2 separate regions of the Homo sapiens genome follow, and region 2 is linked to region 1. The links are contacts of gene promoters, found by promoter capture Hi-C in human tissues and cell types (Jung and others, 2019). All regions are on one chromosome and are shown on one strand. The core of a region is centred on a gene start or on the middle of the fragment in contact, and the rest is flanking DNA. Distances in the headings are between cores, read along the strand shown. Region 1 holds the start of DOCK7 (dedicator of cytokinesis 7). Region 2 overlaps EFCAB7 (EF-hand calcium binding domain 7).

Region 1 (6,283 bases), core at 2,207-4,706:
TTATAATTCTTTTTAAAGTATAGGTTTCTGAACAATCACAAAGCTTTGAAAAGAAATAAGGTTTCAAACAGCAACAGGCTTTTCACAGAGCAACAAATTTCATATACGAACACTAGGAAAAGGATTATCATTTCCAACAAAAGCCTCAAACCACATTATAAATACTGTAGTAAAAAACAGTTGATACTTACTAGGCACTTAGAGCACTGTTCTAAGCACTTTAGAGGTAACAATTCATTTAATCCCCACAACAACCCTACGAGGTTAAGTCTTACCATCATCCTCATTTTCTAGATAGGGAAAACGAGGCAGAAGTGTGGTCAAGTAACTTGGCCATGTTTACTCAACGAGTGGCTGTGCTGGGGTGTCAAACCCAGGAACTTCATCTCCAGAATTTGTGCTATACTTCCTCTAATAGAAAAGTTAAAAAGCAGAACACGAATTGATTCAGAAGTATTAAGTATTATTCAATCATATTTGATAACAAGGAAGAACCTTTCATTCACAATAAGCAGTTAATAATGCATTACTCATAGCAGTTCTGTCTTTGGTATTCCTTCCAAGTTAAGTCTGCACATTCTCACTGGACAATCTCATCAACCCCCACCCACCCCCGGGCTCCAAATGCAATCTACTTGCTGATAACTCTCAAATCTAGATCTCCAGCCCAATCTCTCTTCTGCACCTTCAACCTGCACCAAAAACCAAATAGATATTTCTCTCTGAATGATTCATGAGCCCCTCAAAATTAACATGTCCAAAACTGAATCATCATCTCCATCCCACTTGCATCTCCCAATCTCAAACTCCTTTTTCCTCCTGTACTCCCTTACCCCAAAGACTGCCACCATCATCCACGTGGTTGCCCAACTTAGGATGTCATCCCAGACTCCTCAGTCCGCCTCACCTTGCATGTCCAATCACCAATCACTACCATATCCACCTCCTGTCTGTCCAATAAGTGCACATTTCTTCATTCACATTATCTTAATTTTATAACTTCTTAGAAAGCTGTTCTTATTTGCATTTTGTGTTGTTTTGCACAACTGATTCTCTTTTTCTCTTGTGGTTTGTCCTATCCCATCTGGTGGCGAACTCCACTAATAGACATACAATTTCATATCCAACTCTCTAAAGTGCACTTACTTTATCAGCATGATGTTTTCAGAGATAAACTTCTGGTTCTAATAAGAGAAATTAAAACTAGGAATACATGTCAAGTAATAACTTTTTTTTTTTTTTTTTTTTTTTTTTTTTTTTTTTGAGACGGAGTCTCGCTCTGTCGCCCAGGCCGGACTGCGGACTGCAGTGGCGCAATCTCGGCTCACTGCAAGCTCCGCTTCCCGGGTTCACGCCATTCTCCTGCCTCAGCCTCCCGAGTAGCTGGGACTACAGGCGCCCGCCACCGCGCCCGGCTAATTTTTTGTATTTTTTTTTTTTAGTAGAGACGGGGTTTCACCTTGTTAGCCAGGATGGTCTCGATCTCCTGACCTCATGATCCACCCGCCTCGGCCTCCCAAAGTGCTGGGATTACAGGCGTGAGCCACCGCGCCCGGCCAGTAATAACATTTTTTAATGACATCATCATCAGAAGTAAGACCTAATTATTTTACAAAAAAAAAAAATTTCCTGTCATCATAACTCCCTGGGAGAAACTAATTACTACAAGTGTTTGATGACAGGTAGTATAGGCCCTGTACTATCCTACGCACATTACACAAATTATGCCACTTAATGTTCACAACAACACTATGAGCTGGGTCCTATTATTATTCTCATTTGCCAGACGAGGAAACGGAAATTTGGCCCAACAACTTGGCCAAAGTCCCAAGCTAGAAAATACCAATCAGGATTTGAACCCATGTCGGGGTCTGAGAGTAGAGCCCATGCTCTTAAACACTTGCTATTTTGCCCCTTCAGGAAAAAAAAAGTGCTAGAACGCTGGAAAGAAAGAAAAAAAAAAGCCTCTGCCTCGAAAGCAGCTAGGACGACAGGTGCAACACCACACCTGGCTAATTTTTTTGCAGAGATGGGGTGGGGGGGACTCGCTATGTTGCCCAGGCTGGTCTTGAACTCCTGGCCTCAAGCGATCCTCCTGCCTCGGCCTCCCAAACTGCTGGGATTACAGGCCTGAGCCACTGCATCCGGCCCAAAATTTTTAAAGAAATGTCAGCAAACTAAAAAGACTCAGAGCCACAGAACTACAACTGCCCCAAAACAAAAAAAGGTAATTTAATATGAATGCTTCTTTTCTTGGGACATCATAATTCACACAAATATGATTTTATTAAAACAAAAATGTCTACTGTCTCATACATAAGTATACTCCACAAAGAAATTCTACAAATATTAGAGTCCTCTGTCATTTAATTTTTATTTGGCGGGTGGGAGAAAGGTGGCAACCAACCACCACAAGTAGGTGAAAGGCTTTGAAACCTCCACCTCAATCACTTGCTTTACTTCAAGACTGCAATCACTTGCTTTACTTCAAGACTGCTAACATATAAAAGGATGTCAGTGTATAAAGAACACTGCCTATCATCCATCTTCTCGGGTGCTCTGAGAAACACAGGCGCACAGTTAAATTCACAGGCGAACTCAGAACAAGCTTCAGCCTGCAATCCGTCAGGGATTCGGCAGCTGCACACCGAAGGTGCAGCCCGCAGCTCTCAACTTTTCATTCTGTCCACACGTTTTCAATCCTGGACGCACAAGTCCACTTTGAACCTGGCCCGAGGGTGCAAAGAGGGTTCCTGTCAGATTTCTCAGGAAGAGAGAGACGCGTGAAGGAGGGGCGGCCTCCCACCCGCCCCGAGCCGCCGCGCGTTTCTCCTTTTGTTGGGGTGGAGGAGGGCGGACCCCGCACCCTCTAGGGGCCAAGAGGGGTGGGCGGAGAGACGGGAGGGGGCGAAACGCCGCGGCGGCCCCCGACGAGCCCGGGGGTGGGAACACAAAGAATTTGGGAAGCGGCCGACCGCCCTTCCATAAACCTCCGCAGAAGTCCAGGCCCGGGCCGCCGAGGAGCAGGAGGAGGCGGGCGCGCTGGAGTCCGCGGCCCTCTCCGCTCCCTGCCGAGGCTCAGCGGCGGGCGCGGGCTGAAGGCCGGGGTTCGAGGGCGGCGCGAGGCCTCCGCTACCCCCTCAGCCACCCCGAACCCCTTCCGCCCCGCCGCGAGCCAGGCCGCGGGATCCCGGTGCCGGCCCCGCCACACCCACCCGCCTCCTAGGCCAGGCCTGGGAGGACTCCGCGGCTCTTTCTCGGGCGGCGGCGGCGGCGCGCCCCACGCCGGATATTTACCTGCTGATCTTCTGGGCGAAGGCGCGGCGCTCGGCCATGGCTGCTGCGGCGACGGCGACGGCGGCGGCGGCTGCGGCGGGCCGGGTGCGGACCGGCGGGCGCGTGCCTCCTCGCTCGTGCTCCCTCCCTCGCGGCCTCCGCCAGTCCGGGCTCCGGACCTGGGAGGCTGGGGCTGGCGGCCGGAGCCAGGAACGAGCCCTGCCGTAATGTTCCTTAGAGGCGCGCAACGAGAAACCGCTCCTCCCCCAGCGCGTCAATCCCGGCGGGAACCCCGGCTGCGGAAGGCGGCTGCGGCCGGCGGGAGCCGAGGGGAAGAATGGAGCGCTGAGGAAGCGAGGCGCCAGCCCCAGCCGCTTCGCTGCCGCGGAGCCTGCACGACCGAGAGGTCGCGGAGAGAAGCCAGAGACAGGCCAGCGACCTGGCGAGGCAAGAAAATAAGATAACCGAACGCGTAGGGGGAGCTTGGCTTTCCCGAAATGGAAGGGAAGGAAATGAAAGGTGGGCTTTGCCGAGGGGGCTGTGCTTTAACCAAAGCCCTGGATGACTGGGTTCATGTTTCTGCAGCACCGGTCTCCGAGCTTTTTAAAGCACTTGGGTTTCTGCTTCGGCCTCATGAATGCAGCCTAACTGGAGAAACAGTGGTTTTTCTTATAGAGAAAGAGCCAGAAAATACCTTGCTCCTGCAGCGATAACAATAGTAATAGTTGACTTCTGGTGCTTAGCCAGCCACTGGATTAAAGTTTTTCAAGCACGAGCGCTTTGAAGTAGATCGTTACTATCACTATTTTAGAGGGAAGGAAATTGGCTTGGAAAAGCTAAGTGACTGGCCCCAGGTCGCACAGATGGTAAACTCTTCCACTGAGACTCAAACCCAGAGCCGGTTCTTTTCTTTGAGGACAGTTGTTTCCGTATTATTAACCCCTTTTGGATCTCTCTCTGTCTCTCATACATACATATATATATATATATATATATATATATATATATATATATATATATATATAAAATCCAGGTGAGCTCTAACGTTCACCCCCATTTTGATGTTCTGTTAAATAAGCTCTGTGTTGACCACTGAAACTGACCTTGTCCATAATAGCCTATAAAACAGAGACTAGCAGAGATTTGTTTTCATCTGTTCTGTTGTAATCCCATAATGTCTAGAATATTTGGCTCCTAATGCATATCTGTTGATACTGAAATTATGGTGACACTAAGAAAAATATCTTGGTTTCTTGTAGTACCTTTCCTCTTAAGTATTGCAAGAACTTAAAATGTGTATTTATTTATTGTTATTATTATATTCTCAGTATGTCCTGGTGGAATATGTTGGATACCTGTTTTCCTCTCTTTTACCATTGGAAAATCTGTAGCTTGGAGCCATTAGGTCACTTGCCAGAGTCACACACTGAGTCAGAGGTGAAAGCCTCAATTAGTCAGATCCATAACTTCCTGTCTAGTGCTGTAACTTCTGTGGAAGACTGTGTATTTATATAACAATGCTCATTGCAGTAACACACTGCTTTTATTTATTGATTTATTTATTTTAGACAGAATCCCCCTGTGTTGCTCAAGCATGGAATGCATAGGGCACTGCAGCCTAAAACTCCTAGGCTCAAGCAATCCTCTTGCCTCAGCCTCTGGAGGAGTAGCTAGTACCACAGGCTCTTGCCAAGGCGCCCTCCAGTAACACACTGTTTTCAGATGCTTGTTTACTAAAGGAAAAGATAGTCTATTCAAAGAGGACAGATATTTGGCTTCTACCTAAGTATAGAGCCCACCTAGGTGTTCTAAAAAACACGAAGGTGAACTAGACACAGACCTGCTCTCAGAATGTTTGAGTCCATTGGGAAAGATGAACCAGGTACTCACAGACTGTAAGTCAAGGCTATCACTGTACCTGGCTTTTAAGACCCTCTGTGATAGGAACCCAGACTTATTTTGCCACTTTCTTACTCTGTAACCTTAGGCAAGCTACTTAACTTCATCTCTAAAAGGAGGAAAATAATTATATCTACTTGAAAGGGTGTTGTGAAGATTTATTGAATTGATTAATATAAAGTTCTTAGAACAGGGCCTGGTTCATGGTAAGTACGATGTGTGTCAGCTGTTGTTATTATTATCACTGTTACTGTCATTATTCATCCTATACTTAAGCTTGTCCTGGGTGTTTGATAGTCCCTGAATTGGTTGTCTGCTCTCATACTCCCAGCCAGATGTTGCATGCCTTTATCTCTGTTCTCCAAACATCTTTTCACTACTCTCTTAGAGAACTGGCCACATTTTGCTTTGAATAGTTCTTTGTATACATGACTCACTAGTTGCCAAAGTGTCTGAAAGGACTTTGCATGTACTCTGCAGCTTACTGGAAACATTTAGAGCAGGAAGAGGACAAGCAGGATCACGCTGTAAGCAGGGTAATTCAGAGTCTGGGGAACACTCTAAGCAGGAAGGGTGACCCCCTACCTCTGGGGAAGAGCTGGCAGTCACAGACCAAGTCATGTTGGCTGGTATCCCTGCCCCACAGGGTTTCAATGTCAGGAAAAGATATGGAACGCAGCAATGGGAGTGACAGTGGAATTGCTTCAGCTGACTAGCATCCATGCTCCCTATACCACCCCCTACACACACACACACACACACACACACACACACACACACACAGGTGTCAATCCACTATACTTCTGGGGAGCTCACTCCACCACCCTCAGTTTCAAGGGTCTTTTGACCTGGGCCTCACCAAGCAAAGCAGCACACTCCTCTGGCTTCTGTAACTGATTTAGGGATAGGCTCATGAATCAAACCAAGACAATCGGGCCCAACCAGAATTAGAAATTGCATTTGGTATACCAGGGCACTCCATCTAAAGAAGGCCTACCTGAGAATGAAGCCAAGCACAGCAGAGAGGAGAGCAAAAATATTGAAAAAGACAAGTTCCTTAGAATATAGCATGACTTGAGCCTTGGACTTTGCAGTTACATGAGCTAAA
Region 2 (6,225 bases), core at 3,437-5,936, 840 kb after region 1:
ATTTTTGTATTTTTAGTAGAGACGGGGTTTTGCCATGTTGGCCAGGCTGGTCTCGAGCTCCTGACCTCAGGTGATCTGCCTGCCTCGGCCTCCCAAAGTGCTGGCATTATAGGCGTGAGCCACCACGCCTGGCCAATAAATTAAAATTACTTCTAATTTGCCATTATTTCTAAAATAATCCGAGTTTTTTTTTGTTACTGTTTTGAAAATATACTAAGAGAAGGAATCTGCTAAGTTTAAAAGTTTAACATGCCTTCCACTACTATGGCATTTAGTTTGTGAATCAATGTGTATGTATTACTAAGGTGCTATCAATCTTATGAAATTATCTGGGAGGATAACTATACAGTGTTTGTCTCTTCAGTGTTATATACACTTTTGGTTTTAGGGTGGAATACTCTCTTAACGTTGTAATAATTGATTTTAGATAAACTATTTTTTAAAAAGGAGTAACATGAACTAGAGCTGCTGCTTCTTGCTACACCTTTCATCTATATCCTTCTGCCACTTATGTGCATTTCCATTTTAAGGTCAGAGACAGCGGTAGCATTACTATAGCTTTAAGTTCCTTTTTTGTCAATTTATAAATAATACAGGATTATAGATGCATGTCAGAACTTTAAAGTAAACCCTGGCAAAAGATCCATATCATGGTGTCAAAATTTAAATATCTACAGCTACGTGATATTTTTACTATCATCAAACTTAATCATTAGATCCAGCTAATTCTAAACCTAGAGATTAAAGTTAGTAGGAAATAGATTGTATCAATTTCTTAGCTATGGGGACATCTGCTTACTGAGTACATGTTTTGGCATAATTAATTTTATTCTGAGAAAGTTGTTCTTGTCTAATTACCAGTACATTTTTTAAAACAATATTTTCTTTGTTACTAAAGATAGCAGCAAGCATATGCTAAGCTACCACTTGTGAGAAAAAGTTACATACCTTTTTTCTCAAAACTGAACAGAAGATATAATTTTCTTTCATGTGGACTTCAAATGCTGGCAAGGATGTGGAGAAAAGGGAACCCTCTTACACTGTTGGTAGGAATGTATATTAGTACAACCACTGTGGAGAACAGTTTGGAGGCTTCTCAAAAAACTAAAAATACAGCTACCATAGGATCTAGCATCCTACTGCTTGGTATATATCCAAAAGGAAATCAGCATATTGAAGAGATATCTGCACTCCCATGTTTACTGCAGCACTATTCACAATAGCCCAAATTTGGAAGCAACGTAAGAGTTCATCAATAGATGAATGGATAAAAATAAAAAAAGTGGTACATATACACAGTGGAGTACCATTCAGCTATCATAAAAAAGAATGAGATCCTGTCATTTGCAATAACATGGATAGAACTGGAGGTCATCATGTTAAGTGAAATAAGCCTGGCACAGAAAGGCAAACATCACACATTCTTTCTTATCTGTGGGAGCTAAAAATTAAAACAATTGAACTCATGGAGATAGAGAGTAAAATGATGGTTACCAGAGGCTGAGAAAGGTAGTGGGGGTAGGGGGAGAAAATAGAAAATAGAAAAATAGAAAGAATAAGACCTAGTATTTAGCTAGCACAACAGGGTGACACTAGTAAAAAAAATCATTTAAGTGTACATTTTAAAATAATTAGAGTATAATTGGATTGTTTGAAACAAAGGATAAATGCTTGAGGCAACAGATACCCTATTTACCCTGATGTAATTATTGCATACCTGTATCAAAAAATCTCATATTATACACCTACTATGTATCTCCAAAAATTAAAGATTTAAAAAAAAGAACCTTAGAAAAAAGGCACTTTAGGCTTAACAATAAGGAAGAAATTTTGCAGGAAATTTTATATAATATTCATTGTCATAAAAATAATTTAGTAGTTGTGTAAATGTGTTCTGTATATGTACCATGATTCAGTTAACCACTCCTTGATTCTTTGAACATTGTTTCCTTTATTATTAGTAGCAGTAGTGTAGCAATATGATAAACATCTTTGCACACTAAGCCTTTTTAAAATAAAAATATTTTAGAGGCAAAAAAAAAATTACAACTTCATTTACATCTACTTGTATTCCCAGCTTTTAAAGGGTAGGAGCTGGCTGGGGTTGGAATCCTAAAACACATATTGCCATTTCTTTGATTCTGTAAACAGCTGAATTAAGGAATAGTTCATTTACACACTAGGCAAAATACTTACTTACCTGTTGTTGCTAGGGCAGCATGGTAATCAGGGCTTTTGTCGACATCCAAAATAAAACTGTGGGAATAAAAACATTTATATTATCTCCAATGCAATGAATTTCCACAAAGCCTTTATAGGTATATGGAAGATGGCGGTTACCACAACTACAACTTCTGTTAGCTCTGAAAGTCACTGGCATAATCTAGAGGAGAAGAGAATTTTATTTATGGATTTTTAATATGTTATAACCCATGAGTTATGGCCATAGATAGCAATTTTACAGTCAGATGTAGACTTCCTATTTAGATTATAAAATTTCTTGCCAGGCGCGGTGGCTCATGCCTATAATCCCAGCACTTTGGGAGGCCGAGACGTGCGGATCACCTGAGGTCAGGAGTTTGAGACCAGCCTGACCAACGTGGAGAAACCACGTCTCTACTAAAAATACAAAATTAGCTGGGGGTGGTGGTGCATGCCTGTAATCCCAGTTACTCGGGAGGCTGAGGCAGGAGAATCACTTGAACCCGGGAGGCAGAGGTTGCAGTGAGCCGAGATTACACCATTGCACTCCAGCCTGGGCAACAAGAGCCAAACTCCATCTCAAAAAATAATAATAATAATAAAATAAAATTTCTTTTTTTGAGATGCAGTCTTCCTCTGTCACCCAGGCTGGAGCACAGTGGCTCAATCTCGGCTTACTGCAGTCTCCGCCTCCCAGGTTCAAGCGATTCTCCTGCCTCAGCCTCCCAAGTAGCTGGGATTACAGGCGCAGGCCACCAGGCCCGGCTAATTTTTGTATTTTTAGTAGAGACAGGGTTTCACCATGTTGGCCAGGCTGGTCTTGAACTCCTGACCTCAGGTGACCTGCCCACCTCGGCCACCCAAAGTATAATTGTAAACCCAAATTACAGGTGTGAGCCACCACGCCAGTCTAGAATATAAAATTTCTTTGGAACTAAAAAGTTTGTATTGATGAACAAAAATCACCCTATACTATACTTGTGCACAATAATGTTCAATATAACTGACTCACTTATATCTGTATTTATTACCCTGATCTGGTTTCTATTTCCATGAGGATATTTCTTTAGTGAAATTGTTTTATACTTACTGGTCCTTATTACATTAAATTGTACAATATCCAGATTATCATTTTTTGATGCTGATTGGTGATGCGCAGATCTTGTGAATTTCTATAAAGATAGTTGGAACTATCCAATATAAGATTTTGTAATAGAATTTGGCAGTACAATTCAGGACAATTGTATCTTTTAAAATTATGTTAATTCCTTCTGTGGTGCTTAGGAAATTTATCATTGGTTCATTTTAGAAAATGTTATATTTCAGTATGCAGAGATTTATTTGCAAATTACCAAGTTACTTCTATTCAACTGTTCAAAATATCTGCAGTTGCTTTAACCATTTTATTTTAGAGTGATATGACATACATAAATATACAAAGCTTTTCTCACATGTACTTCTTTGCTCTTCATAGATAGAAGGATATGGTTAAAAATGAAGAGTAGTTTGACCATAGCATCTCTATAATAATCTTCTCTCACAGTATATTGACATTCTTGATTTTTAGCAGGACCATGCCTGCAAAGGGATACTTTATGTGCATATATTTGACATTTGGAACATGATTAATGTTTTTGAAAGCTTAGTACCTAGCAAAGATGAACATTTTAGATATCGTGCCTTATTGACATTGGTATTCTTAAATGAATGATTTTCTCATTTCATTAAGATATTTGTTTTTTAAATTCACACATTGTATGTATTTATGGGGTACAATTTGACATTTCAATACATTTATATGTTGTATAATGATCAAATCAAGGTAGTTAGTATATCCGTCGCTGCATGCATTTATCTTTTCTTTGTGGTGAGACCATTCAAAAGCCTCTCTTCTAGCTGTTTTGTAATATACAGTACCTTAATGCTAACTATAGTCACCATACTGTGCAATAGAATAGCAGAACCTATTTCCCACTATCTGATTGTAACTTTGTACCCATTGACCAACCTCTCCCCATCCTCCCCTACCCCCAGAGTACTTAGATAGTACTTAAGTTCCCCTTCCCAGTCTCTGGTAACCACTGATCTATTCTCTACTTCTAGGATATTAACTTTTTTTTTAAGATTCCACACAAGTGAGATACGCTGTATTTGTCTTCAGCGTCTAGCTTATTTCACTTAACATGTTGTCCTCCAGGTTCATCCATGTTGTTGCAGATGACAGGATTTCCTCCTTCTTTATGGCTGAATAGTCATTAAGGTATTTATTTAGCCAGAAAAAGTACTAATTTATACTTTTTGTGTTATCCTTTTGTCCCCCAAACAATTAAGTGGATGGTTGTTTTTAATCTTGTATTTCCTTTAGAAGCTTTTAGAAGCTCTTAAGTAATCAGATATTGTTAGTTATTTAAACCATGTAGGTTGAGAACCAAACTGTCAGAATAAGGAAAATCTATTTAATTCTGGTATTAATAATTAAAGAATGTTTAGGTGGTGGCATAAATATTTTTGTTTTTCAAAGTCAGGCCTATCTTGGTATCACTAGATAAGTCAACACCAAAGTAATGTACTGGTATATGTATAGTGTTTTGTAAATATCATAATACATAATGATTTGAAGAAAAAAATGCGCTTAAGTACAAATTCCAGGTGTTACAATCACAAATAATACTTGTCTTGTTGGGCAGCTCTTCAGCATGCAGGAAGAAATCCATCCCAAAAGACCATTAATAAGTATTGGACTCCTCAAACTGCCAAACTGAATTTTGATGATTTTTGTATAATTTTAAGGAAGGAAAAACCTACTTCAAAAGCAGAACTACTAAAATCATTTAAGCAATTAGATGTAAATGATGATGGCTGTATTTTACACACTGACCTTTATAAATTTCTAACAAAGGTAAGATCTGTAAAACTGTTTTGTAATGTGCATATTTTCTAAAACAGCTTGGAATCTAGCTTTGACTACCAAAGTCCACATTAAAAATAAGTATTTCATTGAGAGGTTAAATGAATTACTTACATGTTATTTATAACGTACTTAGGAATCCTTCTGGATGAAATGTTCTTTGTAAATAAAAGATAAAGTATAAAATCGAGCTTATGTTACCATCCCCTTGTTCTCCTATTTAATTGGTTCCTGTTCAGAACTCTTTGAAAATCAGTGATAGTTCCATATGTGATAAGTAAAAGGAAAACCAAATATAAATGGGATTAGGAATCCATTCTGTTTTTTGATACAATGTTAGAAAATATCATTCCCCTAAACTCAATAGCAGTTATAACTGACTCTATACTATTCAATTGTTAGTTACTATTTAGTAAACTGAAATTCAGCACACTTTCACAAAATTTAATAAAATTGTGAAATTTATATAGCCGCCTCATTCTTTCTTTATATATAATACTCATGATTTATAATGAAGCAATACATTCAGACTTACTTGTGGAAAAGATTAAAATGTGCTTCCACTGTCCCCATGAATAACAAAGGAGTAATCATGTTGCTTTAAAATAAATCTTGTTTTTTTTTTTCAGAGAGGTGAGAAGATGACTCGAGAAGAAGTAAATGCCATAATAAATTTGGCTGATGTAAATGCTGATGGCAAATTTGACTACATCAAGGTACATAAGCTCACATTGATGTAAATTTACATACTGTGTTGGAAAAGTGTTTTTATTTTTCCCCAGCTTTATTAAGGTATAATTGACATTACAGTGTACATGCAATGTTTTGATATATGTATACATTGTGAAACAATTAAATCAGTTAACATGTCAACTAATTAACATGTCAGCAAATTATTTTTAAAGGGATGCATCTTTTTAATATTGGCAATGACATCCTTAAATATTGTGCATGAAATTTAATTTTTCCAGTCCCATAATTGCAATCTGATGACTACATTAAAATAATATAACCAAGTTAAAAAACATGTGTGCTCACACACACGGACAGATACACACATAAACATAGAGACTCTACTCAGAAATGTACTTTTTCTGGGGTGGAAGAATCATAAA

What was found. The method cuts DNA at HindIII sites, captures the fragments that hold promoters and counts their contacts. A contact is called where the count stands out against the background at its distance.
Region 2: a contact is called between a fragment that was not itself captured here and the fragment with the promoter of DOCK7 in region 1, in 1 of the 25 tissues and cell types used here (hippocampus).

What each region holds. Positions count from the first base shown.
Region 1 is chr1:62,684,930-62,691,212 of GRCh38, forward strand. It overlaps DOCK7 (dedicator of cytokinesis 7), which reads right to left and starts at 3,457. Exons shown (of 50, transcript NM_001367561.1): 1 at 3,298-3,457. The coding sequence starts at 3,335. It overlaps DOCK7-DT (DOCK7 divergent transcript), which reads left to right and starts at 3,553. Exons shown (of 2, transcript NR_185999.1): 1 at 3,553-3,723. RefSeq lists a silencer at 2,810-3,559 and an enhancer at 4,569-4,863. The HindIII fragment of the contact is 7,491 bases long and covers 1,326-6,283 here.
Region 2 is chr1:63,526,931-63,533,155 of GRCh38, forward strand. It overlaps EFCAB7 (EF-hand calcium binding domain 7), which reads left to right. Exons shown (of 14, transcript NM_032437.4): 3 at 4,890-5,101; 4 at 5,740-5,826. It also overlaps a transcript of ITGB3BP not described here and the pseudogene RN7SL488P. Among named protein-coding and RNA genes, the nearest start is that of EFCAB7, 6.5 kb to the left of the region's middle. The HindIII fragment of the contact is 6,676 bases long and covers 1,349-6,225 here.